Linked DNA regions of Homo sapiens: region 1 is linked to region 2. The links are contacts of gene promoters, found by promoter capture Hi-C in blood cells and fetal thymus (Javierre and others, 2016). All regions are on one chromosome and are shown on one strand. Each heading gives the region's core, a stretch centred on a gene start or on the middle of the fragment in contact. The rest is flanking DNA. Distances are from core to core; before and after follow the strand shown. Region 1 overlaps NUP214 (nucleoporin 214). Region 2 holds the start of PRRC2B (proline rich coiled-coil 2B).

Region 1 (6,601 bases), core at 2,356-4,855, 220 kb after region 2:
GGCCAGTTAAAAAGGACAGTCTCCTGAAAATGCATTGTGTAGGCAGGCTTAGCCGCCACCCCCCTTATAACCTAAGGCGGTGCAGGAAAACCAGACTGTGACAGTGGCACTGCTGCTCCCTGCAGGCAGTCCACCGCTACTACAGAAGCAGCCAGGGGCTGAAACACACTGCAGTCAGAACATACCCCATGGCTGTAGAAGGGGTTGCAGGGTTATTCTTCAATTCCTGCACATTTACCACTTGAGGGACATTCTTCAACGTTGATTCAGTCAAAGTGTTTACAGCTAATTTAAACAGAGAAGAGAGAACACCATATTAATTCCAGCAAAGGATAAAAAGTTCTAGCCACATATAAATGAAAAACCAAGACATGAGCCCAAGCAGATTAGAGCCTTATCATGTGAAGGAAATCTACTCTAGGTAGTTCTTGCAGCATTGTGTTCAAAGGAACACCTGGCCTACTCCATTAACACAGGTGATGGAACAAGGCTTCCTGTAACTGAATCGAATGTACTAGAGTAGGGGAAAAGAATTCTCTGGCCAGCTTTTCTACACAGAGCTGAGACACCTGCCACACTGCTGGTCTGTCCTGGAAAAGGGCAGCTTGAGCTAGAGGATTAACAGCATCTAGACTCAGGATTTCTGCCACTCATTCACTGTCTTTCTTTAACATGGGCTTATTATGTGCCAGGCTCTGTGTTAGGGGCTGCGAATACAAAATGTATCTATAGTTTCTTCTCTAAAGAAACTCATGGCCTAGTGAGACAGAAAGGCATAATGAATAAAATGTGGAAAATGGAGCTTGGACAATAATGGGAGAAGAGACTAAGAGGCATATATCTGACACCTCCTCATCAGCTTTCGTCTTATAATTGTAAATTGTATCCCAAAAGACTTAATGACATTCTATAATTAGCAATTAAGGAAGCCTGAGCAAAGCTTGTGGCTCATTACTAACTGCATCACTGGCCAAGGTGAAAGTGGTTATCACAAGCAGAATGACAGACCTGTAGTTAATTCTCTTTTATTCCCTCTTTCAAAGAAGTGACCAGAACATCTTGCCCACGACTGCACATCTTTCATATTTCATATTCAAAGGTGCCTATACCTTAGAAATTTTTGCATCCAACATGATAATACAGATCACACCACCTTCTGCTGAGTGGAACAATCCTCAATCCTAATAGATTTTAACGTTTTACAGATCATTGACTTGATCAACTTGATTTCAGGCCTGTTCAGCACAATGGCAAGATTCTACCTGGTCCAAGTAATATTTAAAGAGATCAAAGAATTCTATTTTTAGAAAGCCCAAAGGTACCTCAAAAGTTATCTTTGTTTTGTTCTTCAATATATATGTTAGATGTCTTAATAAAGGTTTTAATATTTGAATTTTTCTTTACAATCTTTTGACTTATCACTGTTTAATGTTAGTTCTTTTTTCCTAAATCAAACTATTATGTCTTTTTAGTCTTTAAAAAAAACTCTAAATTGATAAGTGTTGTAAGCAGTGATACATCTAAAAAATAATTTTACTCAGCTAAAATGAAAATATTTGGCTTATATCTGTTTCTTGACCCTGGCACTACTGACATTTTGGGGCTAGATAACCCTTTGTTGTGGGGGTGTCTTATGCATTTTAAAGATTTTTTTTTTGCAGCATTCCTGGCCTCTACCCACTAAATGCCAGCAACACTGCCAACTGTTTCAGGGGTGGAGGACAGGGAAGTGGGGGCAGCCTCTAGTTGAGAACTACTAGCTTATAAAACTGATAACTAGTGATAACTGAAGTCCTTGAGACCAACTACGCAGACTGTAAAATCCTAATGTACAATGTACATTAACGTAGAAAGTAGTAGAAAGTTTGGGATAATGACAAGCCACTGACGAAATGTTAAGTGCTAACTGACTTATTAGCGCTTCCTTCTGTAAAAGTTAAATTTTACAATGTTAAAAAAAAAGCTTTGGTCAGGAGCAGTGGCTCATGCCTATAATCCCAGCACTTTGGGAGGTAGAGGCGGGTGGATCACTTGAGCCCAGGAGTTTGAGACCAGCTTGGATAACATGGTGAAATCCTGTCTCTACAAAAATTTTTTAAATATTTGCCTGGTGTAGTGGTGCATGCCTGTAGTCCTAGCTATCCAGGAGGCTGAGGTGGGAAGGTCACCTGGGTTCGGGAGATCACGGAGGCTGCAGCGAGCCGTGATCGCACCAGTGTCCTTCAGCCTAGGCAACACAGTGAGACCCTGTCTCAAAAGAAAAAAAAAAAAAGCTTCATGCAAGATATAGTTGGAGAAGAAAAAATGCTCAACTGAAAAAGAGCAGAGGGTTAGAGTCTGGGTTCTGCTACTTATTGGTGGGATAACCTTCACCTCTCTGAACTTCAGATTACTCAAACACAAAATGGTCATTCTTTTTGTTTGTTTGTGTTTGTTTTGTTTTAGAGATGAGGTCTCACTATGTTGCCTAGGGTGGTCTCAAACTCCTGGCCTCAAGTGATCCTCCCACCTCAGCCTCCCAAAGTGCTGGGATTACAGGCATGAGTCACTATGCCCAGCCAAAATAGCCATTCAAATACCTACCTCTTGGGGTAGCTGCAATCTGTAAGATACTAAGAGATGACGCTAGTGTTATTCGATGATCGAATTTCAAAGGTTATAATTTTAGGGCTCTAAGCAGACATTATTCAAAAGTAGGATTAGCAATTTTGTTTAAAAAAAAAAACAAACCCCACTGATTTCCACCTTAACTAAATGTGGCAGTTCTAATCCCTCCCCTTAAAAGCAAAGATTTTCAGACCTAGTCTCTGCTTTCTTAGAACTCTCTCCACAAAGGGGAGAGGGCTGTCACATCAATCTTCTCTTCTGAAGGGCACCAAAGAGCGCCCACTGTTTCTTGCCACCTGCTGTCCTGGCCTGTGACTCAGACAGCTCATAATCAGCCTCTGTACAGGTATGGGGCTACAGCTTTTACCTGGTGCCTGACTGGCCATCTGCCGCCTGAGTGCTGCTGCGGCAGCTGCCTGCGGGGCTGAGATGGGGTGGGAAGGACTAGGTGCACCATGTTTCACGGTTTTCGTGGCAAGCATTGTGCTATCGGCCCCTTGAGGAATAATTTTGCTAGCAGATGTAGCCACTAAGAGGAAAAGAAAAATTAAGTGTGAGTGGGTGAGAGAACAGGAAAATACAAAAGGTTAAATTGGTAAATTCTTTATGTTCGACTGCAGGGAAAATGCTAAAATTAGCGTTAACATAGAAAAGTACCAGTAAACTAACAGGCTGGCATCTATATCTTTCAGTTATCGCATGAAATTTGCCTACCCACCTCTACTAAGATACATCATCATTTCCTGATACTGATTGAGATACAACTTTTATACCAACATAGACCAATTCCCTGATCCCCTCTCACAAATTCTCTTCATTCTAGTACCTAACACTGGTATTTTTCTCTGCTGGAAGTCACTTTGATGCAAAGCCCTGACACTGTACTGAAAGTGTGGGGGCACAACACCTGTCAGTACAGTGAGCCAATACTGACCACAAGCATCAGAGCTGGTGAGTTCTGAGGCAGAATATGCCACAAGTCAGGCTGAAATGAGCCAGGATTTAAAAGATATGAGTGTGGATGTTGCTTTATAACTGAAGCAAACAGCCCCCTTTTACTTCTGAAAAAGATCTGTTTTAAAAAACAAGCTGGCTCAGCAGAAAAACTGTTATAGCGCATAAACTTGGAGAGCCATCTCCTTCCTCACAATGGCCTAGCAACTGCTTTCAAGGGGAACACACATCTTTTCAATCAGTCTTCTAATTTCTAGAATATAAGCAGAAGTGAGTTGAGCAGCCAGGTGCAGTGGCTCATGCCTGTAATCCTACCACTCTGGGAGGCCAAGGCAGGTGGATCACCTGAGGTCAGGAGTTTGAGACCAGCCTGGCCAACACAACATGGTGAAACCCCGTCTCCACTAAAAATACAAAAATTAGCCAGGCGTGGTGGTGCACGCCTGTAATCCCAGCTACTTGGGAGGGTGAGGCAGGAGAATCATTTGAACCCAGGAGGTGGATGTTGCAGTGAGCCTAGATCGCGCCATTACACTCCAGCCTGGGCAACAGAGTGAGACTCCACCTCAAAAAAAAAAAGAAAAAAAGAAAAAAAAAAAAAAGTGGGCTGGAGCCAACCACCATATTGGTGTGACAGTATAAGACCCAGTTACAATTCCGTCATTAGTTAGAAACATCATAGGGAAAAACAGTTTCCTTTCCCACTGTTTACTTACCTGAAGTTCCCATCACACCAGGTGAAGAACCATGAACCAGGTGAGATTTAGCAAAAGGTGCTGCATGGGGCAAGAGACTGGGCTGGATGGAAGGAGTGCGAACCACGGGGGCGTGCCGAGGGGCCTGAACCACTGCCTCGTCATCTTTACAGGACGTCCGTGCATCTTCACTCTCCAGAGACTGGGAGACAGATGACGTTGAGCTGACTTCATCCAAGTCTTCATAATATCTCTGAGACAGAAAGGCTGATCGAGACAGGCTGGCTACAAAAGCCCCAAACAAAACACAATTTAGACAACTCAAAGCAAGCCCAAAAGCTAAGTAATTTTCACTGTTGATAAAAAAAAAAAATACTCAACTTGTAAAATGATTTAATTATTACTTATTTTAAGTGGGAGCAGGTATTGTCAAATGTGAACAAAAATGGTTTTGGGTCTTTGCTCAGATGGGGATTTGAGAAACTGAGGTGTGTGAACGAGAACATCTTGGGGCTGTTAAAAGAATGTGAAAAAGTAAGAGACAGAATTAATGCTGGTGTCAAAGTAGAAGCCTGGAGCCCTCACTAGTATAATAATAATATACTAGAAATGTAACAGGCAAGTTTCCATGGTGGGGTGAACAATCACACCATTACTGTCACCTTCCAATGATAAGCTTCTAAGAACAGGTCCAACGCAAAATGGATTAGAAAGAATGTCCTCGGTCCTGAGTGTCTCGAACATTTCCAGATAAATCTAATGATTCTTCTGATTCAGACAATTAGGTTTAAAAAAAAAAAATACAAGAGACTGGGTGCAGTGGGTCAGGCCTATAATCCCAGCACTTTGGGAGATTGAGGCAGGAGGACTGCTTGAAGCCAGGAGTTCAAGACCAGCTTAGGCAACATAGTGAGACCCTGTCTCTACAAAAAATAGGGTAACAGAGTGAAACTCTGTCTCAAAAAAAAAAAAAAAAAAAAAAAAGGCTGGGTGCAGTGGCTCAAGCCTGTAATCCCAGCACTTTGGGAGGCTGAGGCGGGCAGATCACCAGGACAGGAGTTCAAGACCAGCCTGGCAAATATGGTGAAACCCCATCTCTACTAAAAAATACAAAAATTAGCCAGTCGTGGTGGTGCACACCTGTACTCCCAGCTACTCAGGAGGCTGAGGCAGGAGAATCGCTTGAACCCGGCAGGTGGAGGTTGCAGTGAGCCCAGATTGCACCATTGCACTGCAGCCTGGGCAACAGAGTGAGACTCCTTCTCAAATAACAACAAGAAAAACCCAAAAGAGAAAATAGAATTGAATTGAACTGAATCCCGGCCTTCTGTTTAGACTACGAAGAGTAAGGCTTTATGTCATGTTAACTTTCTATCATAAATTTCAGAATGCAAGTGAATACTTCCTGTATATTGGAAAAAACAAAAACCAAACAAAATAATCTAGCCCTTTTTCTTCCCTCCCCAAGTTATTTAAAATGGCTCTGCAAATATTTATTGACTTTTGTGTCCCATGTGCACATGGCTCTGCAAGATTTTATTGTCATAATGTAAGTATAACATAAACAAATGCCACTAAAAACCAATGCTATGTGCTACGGCTGTCTTAGCCAATTTGGTAGCCAGTAGCCATATGTGGTTATTTAAATTTAAAGTAATCAAAAGCAAATTAATGAAAAATCAATTCCTCGATTGCACTATCCACATTTCATGTCCTCTACAGCCACATGTGGCTAGTAGCTACCCTGTTGGACAACAAAGATACAGAACATTTCCATCATCACAGAAAATCTTCCTGTGAGACAGCAAAAGAAACTACCATCAGAGTGAACAGGCAACCTACAAAATGGGAGAAAATTTTCACAACCTACTCATCTGACAAAGGGCTAATATCCAGAATCTACAATGAACTCAAACAAATTTACAAGGAAAAAACAAACAACCCCATCCAAAAGTGGGTGAAGGACATGAACAGACACTTCTCAAAAGAAGACATTTATGCAGCCAAAAAACACATGACAAAATGCTCACCATCACTGGCCATCAGAGAAATGCAAATCAAAACCACAATGAGATACCATCTCACGCCAGTTAGAATGGCAATCATTAAAAAGTCAGGAAACAACAGGTGCTGGAGAGGATGTGGAGAAATAGGAACACTTTTACACTGTTGGTGGGACTGTAAACTAGTTCAACCATTGTGGAAGTCAGTGTGGCGATTCCTCAGGGATCTAGAACTAGAAATACCATTTGACCCAGCCATCCCATTACTGGGTATATACCCAAAGGACTATAAATCATGCTGCTATAAAGACACATGCATACGTATGTTTATTGCGGCACTAT
Region 2 (6,860 bases), core at 1,159-3,658:
ATTGGCCAGGTGTGGTGGCACATGCCTGTAATCCCAGCTACTCCAGAGGCTGAGGCACGAGAATCGCTTGAACCCAGGAGGCGGAGGTTGCAGTGAGCTGAGATCACATCACTGCACTCCAGCCTGGGCGACAGAGTGAGACTGTCTCAAAAAAAAAAAAAAAAAAAAGAAAAGAAAAGAAAAAAGAAGGAAGGGAAGGAAGGAAAAGGAAGGGAAAGGGAGGGAGGGAGAGAGGAAGAGGGCAAGGGAGGAAGGAAGGAGAAAGGAACCAGAAAAACAGATAATCAACAAACACATACATTTCATCACCTTCCTATGGAGAGAAAACAATTCACTGTGAATCTTAAGTGAGGCTCCCAAGAGCCCTAATAGATACCCAAGGCAGGCATAATTATTCCCATTTTACAGATGCAAGATCTGAGCCTCAGAGACTTGCTTTGTAAAGGTAACCCGATGAGGACCAGAATCCAGCTGCGCAGGCTCCAAGAGACACACTTGCCCAAACAAGTAGAAACTCACTCTCAGATGATTATCTGCCAATCCCCAAGGAAAGCAGTTATCCTCAGAAGGCAGGACTCCTTGGGCGTCTGTTTGTCCTGAGCATCTCGTACTGTTCTAACCCTGCCTTAAACTGACCAACTGCCACACACTCCGGGTCTACTAAGTTCTAGAGACCTCCAAATGCTACTTTTTCCCATCCCTGCCTCCCGAGAGGCTCAGCACTGTATAAGCGCCCACTAATGTTTGGGCCTTGAATTCCTTCTGTATTGTCCATGCCTTAGGCCAGCACCTGTGGCATCCATGGGCACAGTTTGGCTCTATGGGTGGCACCACAAGGGGCTCACGTCTGTCCTAGGACTTGACAGCAGTTATACCAACAACCGTAGGAGGAACCACTAACTGTGCCAGGCCCTCTGCTAGGCCCTTCACCGCTGCCCAAACCTGCCAGGTGGAGGGTGCACGCCCCGATTTATGCAGATGAAGCCTCAGACAGCCCCAGAGTCACTAGGTTTACGGAAGAAAGAAGCAGGATCTGCACCCCAATGCCTGGGCCTCCCCAGTCCCACCTTACACCACAGCGCTGTGCATAGACATGACTAAATGGCTGCAGCGAGATTCGGAAAAACCATGCTAAGACCGCACACAATTGGTTACAAAAACCAAACTGGATGACACTGTACAAAGCCACATCAAATGCACACTAAACCTTAAAGAAAAAAAAAATCTTAGGGAAAGTTTAACAGTCCTGTAAACCAAAGGCATTTAAAGATTTCTCCCAGGAAGCCATTTAGCAAAAGACACTCCCCAGCCCCCCTTCTCCCACTTCCTTCAAGCTCACCACTGAAAACACCTCCAATTCTTGCCTAAAGGTGGGCTCCGACCTCCCACGATATTTAGAAGGAGGAAAAAAGAAAAAGGAAAAAAATCCACCTCTTAAGGCAAATCCACTCTTCAGAGGCCCACAGTTTCAACAGGGCTGAATTTCTCTCCTGGGGGTTGAGGGGAGGCAAAAGAGGAGGAAAAAAAAAAAAACCCCATCTGGCAGGCCCCGAGTGGCGACATCCTGTTTATTATTAAACATTTTTAGCATGGAGCATTCAGCATTTCGAAAATAACCCTCTGGTTCCCGCACTCACACCGAGACTGGGCGGCCGCTCGCCTCCCTCCCCCAGCCGCCAACTTTAGCGCCGCCGGGGCCCGGCCCACCCCGCGCCAGGAACGGCCCCGCGAACGCCGCTCAGCGCCCCGGACCCAAGGCCCGACCCCGCAGGATCCCGCCTCGGGCGCGCTGCTCCGTCAATTGGGCGGGGCGGGGAGCAAAGACGCCGGCCCCAGAACCCCGAGACCCGGCTGCGGGCCCGGGACCCCCGCCCCTCCGGCCTCTGCAGCCCGGCCCGGCCTCGGGGGTACGGGGGTGGCGGGCGAGCCCTGAGGGAGTCGCGCGGCCCCTGGACCCCGCCCGAGCCTGAGGCCGCGCGGCGCCGCCACAACAATGGCGAGCGCGCCCGGGCCCGCCGCCCCCAGGCCCCGCGGCCTCCCAGCCCCGCAGCCCCGCGCCCGGCGGGAAGGAGGCGGCGGCGGCCGCGCTCGCGGACAAAGGTCGGGCAGGGCCGCAGGGCCCCCGGGCCCCCGGCGGCGGCCGCGGGAGACAAAGCCCGGCCGGGCCGCGCCGCCTCCATCTTAGCGCCGCCGCCCCCACGCCCCGGCCCCGGCCCCGGCCCCGACCCACCTGGTCTGGTTCCGCGGGCGCGGCCGGGCCGGGCGATGGCAGTCGGGCGGCGGTCGGGCACGGGGGCGGCGGGATGGCGGCGGATTGCGAGGCGGCGGCGCGGGCTGCTCGCTCGCTCGCTCCCTCCCTCCTCCCGGGCTCGCTCGTCGCTGCGCGGTGGAGCCTCGGCGCCTGTCTCGCCGCTCGCTCCCTCGCGCTCGGCTCCCCGCCCCCCGCCTGCCGCCGCCCCCGCCTCCTCGTCCTCCTCCTCCCGCCGCCGCCCGCAACCTGGGCCCGCGCAGCGCCCCCTGCCGCGCCTCCCGGGAGCGGCGGCCTTGGGATCGGCCCGGGGGCCGGGCGAGGGCTGGGGCCAGGGGGGAGGGGCGGGGAGCGGCGGGAGGGGGCTGGGAGGGGGCTGGGAGTGGGGAGGGGCCCGGGGACGGCGGGAGAGGCGGGAGAGAACGGGGCAGAGCGGGGATCGGGGAGGAGACCCGGAGGAGGGGCCAGGAGCCAAGAGAAGGGGCCTGGGAAGGGCATGGGCCCGGCCTGGGCCCGGGGGAAGGGCGCCCGGAAAGAGGGGGAAGGGATGGAGGGGGCAGTGACGGGGGAGCGAGCCCGGATCTCCGCCCCCTCCCCCTTCAAAACTGCAGCGCCTCAGAACAGACTAAGCCCGGATTTTGTTAAAATATGTATACGGTATATGAACGGAAAGGAAGCAGAAATAATACTTTTTTCATTTCAAAAGCAAGGTTGTTGCACAATATGGGTACTTTGTCCCATTTTTACAAAATGAAAACTAATAAGCCCCTCCTCTTGAGTGTTGTGTGTTTGTGTGATTGCAAAACAAAAGGTCCGGGAGACTGCACTCCTGTCTTGGTTACCTCCGTGGTTTGAGGTTGGGAGAGCGGAGGAGGGTTCTTACTTTTTTAGACACCTAACCAACTATAAAAGCAATTTCAAAAAGCAAATACAAAAAAAAAATGTTAGGGCCTGGCACCCAAATCATCCCACCCTCTTCCAGTCACGGTTGCTCTAAGCACCAGCTGCGGGCCATGCCCTATGCTAAAGCACGTGGTTTGTCTCACTTAATCCTAACCCAGGGGCAGATATTATTGTTCTAATTCACAGGTGAGACAAAGGAGGCTTTGAGAGAATGTGCCCCAGGCCACACTGCTGGACCCAGAAGGAAAATTAACCCACTTCAGCCTAACTCCAGAACTGAGGCTGGTGAACAAAGCTTAGTTTTTGGGGAGTAGAATTCTGGATACTTTTATAGCCTTATTTATAATTCTCTGAATTTTCCTACATTTTATCCATGGTCATTTTCAGTGTTATCCTTTTTTTCTTTTTTCTTTTTTTTTTTTTTTGAGACAGTCTCGCTCTGTCCCCCAGGCTGGAGTGCAGTGGCACAATCCGCAATCTCTGCTCACTGCAACCTCCAACTCCTAGATTCAAGCGATTCTCCTGCCCCAGCCTCCTGAGTAGCTGGGATTACAGACATCTGCCACCATGCCCAGCTAATTTTTGTATTTTTGGTAGAGATGGGATTTCACCATGTTGGCCAAGTTGGTCTGGAACTCCTGCGCTAAAGTGATCCACCTACCTTGGCCTCCCAAAGTGTTGGGATTACAGTGCCGGCCACTCTGTTTTACATCATCAAATCTGCATTATTCCCCTGCCAATGTCTTCAATATTTCGCTATCTCTACAAAACAGGGAGGATGTAACCCTAATTTTTGTTTTCGATTTTGTTCCTTGACCATCTTCAGGAAGGCCATAGAATTGGCCCAGTGCTCAAAACCCAGCAACTAATAAAAATGATAGAAGGCAAATAAACAAATAAAAAATAAATTAAATAAATAAACTGAGCCTCAGGTTCTTCATCTGTAAGGCTGGCGCAGTGGCTAACACCTGTAATCCCACCACTTTGGTAGGTCGAGGCAGGTGGATCATGCGGTCAGGAGTTCAAGACCAGCCTGACCAATATGGTGAAACCCCATCTCTACTAAAAATACAAAAATTAGCCAGGCATGGTGGCAGTCGCCTGTAATCCCAGCTACTTGGGAGGCTGAGGCAGAAGAATTGCTCAAACCCGGGTGGCGGAGGTTGCACTGAGCCGAGATCATGCCACTGCACTCCAGCCTGGGTGACAGAGTGAGACTCCATCTCAAAAAAAAAAAAAGAAAGAAAATAAACAAGCAAAAAAGAAATAAACTATCTGAAGCCTCAGATTCTTTATTTGTAAGGCCAAGCGTGGTGGCTCACCCCTGTAATCCCACCACTTTGGGAGGCCGAGGCAGGCAGATCACCTGAGGTCAGGAGTTTGAGACCAGTCTGGCCAACATGGTGAAACCCCGTCTCTACTAAAAATACAAAAATTAGCCGGGCATGGTGGTGGGGTCCTGTAATCCCAGCTACTCGGGAGGCTGAGGCACAAGAATCACTTGAACCCAGGAGGTGGAGGTTGCAGTGAGCCAAGAGCACGCCACTTCACTCCAGCCTGGGCAACAGAGAGAGACTCTGTCTCAAAACAAAATGATAGGAGGAGGCTGAACAGTAACAGGGTGGTTTACTGAGCACTTACTATGTGACAGCCACTGTGCTAAACACTCCCTATAGAGTCACTCAGGTAATCCTCACGACATACCCATAAAACAGACACTAGTGTGCCCATCCAACAGAGAAGAAAAGTAGACTTTGTGGAGGCAATACAATGCCCCCCACCAAAGATGTCCAAGTCCTGATCCCTGAAATCTGTGAAAATGGTACCTTCTCTGGCAAAAGGGATTCTGTAGATGGGATGAAGTTAAGGATCTTGAGATGCAGAGATGAATCCTGGATTATTTGGTTGGGCAGGTGGAATCACAAGGGTCCTCACAAGAGGAAGGAAGGAGGGTCGGAGTCGGAGAAGATGTGGTTGATGAAGCGGAGTTCATCATATTGACTGACAAAGGAATGACGCAGGACCTCACGCCCAGAAATGCAGGCTGCCTCTAGAAGCTACAAAGGACAAGGAATGGATTCTCCCCTAAAGCCTCCAGAAGAAAATGAGCCCTGCCAACCACCGTGACCTCCAGAACTTTAAGATAACAAAGTTACATAAGCCACTAAATGTGTGGTAATGTAGCAATAGAAAACTAGTACAACCTTGGAGACTTGCTGAAGGCAACACAGCGAGGGAAGGGTTAAAAGGCAAGCTAGGGCCAGACACAGTGGCTCAAGCCTGTAATCCCAGGACTTTGGGAGGCTGAGGTGGGCAGATCACTTGGTCAGGCGTTCGAGACCAGCCTGACCAACATGGTGAAACCCTGTCTCTACTAAAAATACAAAAATTAGCCAGGCCTGGTGGTATGTGCCTGTAATCCCAGCTACTCAAGAAGCTGAGGCAGGAGAACTGCTTGAACCTGGGAGGTGGAGGTTGCAGTGAGCCGAGATTGCACCATTGCACTATAGCCTGGGCGACAGAGCGAGACTCTGTATCAAAAAAAAAAAAAAAAAAAAAAAGCTAGGGCACAGTGGCTCACGCCTGTAATCCCAGCACTTTGGGAGGCCGAGGCAGGTGGGTCACGAGGTCAAGAGATCGAGACCATCCTGGCTAACATGGTGAAACCCCATCTCTACTAAAAATACAAAAAATTAGCCAGGCGTGGTGGCGGGCGCCTATAGTCCCAGCTACTCGGGAGGCTGAGGCAGGACAATGGCATGAACCTGGGAGGCAGAGCTTGCACTGAGCTGAGATCACACCACTGCACTCCAGCCTGGGCGACAGAGCAAGACTCTGTCTCAAAAAAAAAAAAAAAAAAAAAAAAGGCAAGCTAGGAGTCTTGGGAGAGAAGAGACCTGGCTTCAAATCCAGCTCAGCCATCTCCTACCTCCCTGACCATCCTCATGGAGAGAATGGCATGCAGTCATCCATCCCTGCAAAGTGCTTAGCCCAGAGGAGAGCCCTGGGAATCAAAGTTCGTCCGTTCATTCACTGGGCACCTGCACTCTGGTGCTCACTGTGCCAGGCTCTGGGGCCATGCTGTTGAACTGGGCAGAGAAGGGCCACTACAGTCAATAAAACAAACACAGGCCAGACGCAGTGGCTCACGCCTGTAATCCCAGCACTTTGGGAAGCCAAGGCGGGAGGACCACGAGGTCAGGAGATCAAGACCATCCTGGCCAACACGGTGAAACCCTGTCTCTACCAAAAATACAAAAACTAGCCAGGCGTGGTGGCGGGCACCTGTAATCGCTCGGGAGGCTGAGGCAGGAGAATCGCTTGAACCCAAGAGTTGGAGGTTGCAGTGAGCCAAGATCGCCACTGCACTCCAGCTTGGCGACAAAACAGGACTCCATCTCAAAAAAAAAAAAAACAAAAAAAAAAACAACCATGTTCCGAGGTTTTAGTTCTGGTTCTGTCTCCAACCAGCAGAGCTAGCCTTTTGGTGCCTAAGAGTTTCTACCTGCGAAAATTGGGTGGGGAGCACTGTGGTGTCTCTCCAGCTGGGATCCCCAAGCAGAGAAGAGAGCTTGGCACAAAGTAAGCACTCAATCTCCATGGTGGTTGAAAAGTGGATGCCTGGACAACTGAGGCCAAAATCATGGCTCCTGACCAACCACACAAAACACACGGCTCACAAAACCAGCCAAATAAGCACATGCACTAA

What was found. The method cuts DNA at HindIII sites, captures the fragments that hold promoters and counts their contacts. A CHiCAGO score of 5 or more calls a contact.
Region 1: a contact is called between a fragment that was not itself captured here and the fragment with the promoter of PRRC2B in region 2, in 1 of 17 cell types (naive CD8 T cells). The highest score is 5.3, in naive CD8 T cells.

What each region holds. Positions count from the first base shown.
Region 1 is chr9:131,171,995-131,178,595 of GRCh38, reverse strand. NUP214 (nucleoporin 214) reads right to left here. Exons shown (of 36, transcript NM_005085.4): 22 at 4,278-4,541; 23 at 2,975-3,136; 24 at 186-285. Among named protein-coding and RNA genes, the nearest start is that of NUP214, 50 kb to the right of the region's middle. The HindIII fragment of the contact is 2,659 bases long and covers 2,276-4,934 here.
Region 2 is chr9:131,389,634-131,396,493 of GRCh38, reverse strand. PRRC2B (proline rich coiled-coil 2B) reads right to left here and starts at 2,408. Exons shown (of 32, transcript NM_013318.4): 1 at 2,231-2,408. RefSeq lists enhancers at 1-384, 1,147-1,908, 3,035-3,184 and silencers at 1,715-2,004, 2,235-2,344, 2,375-2,564. The HindIII fragment of the contact is 10,669 bases long and covers 1-3,448 here.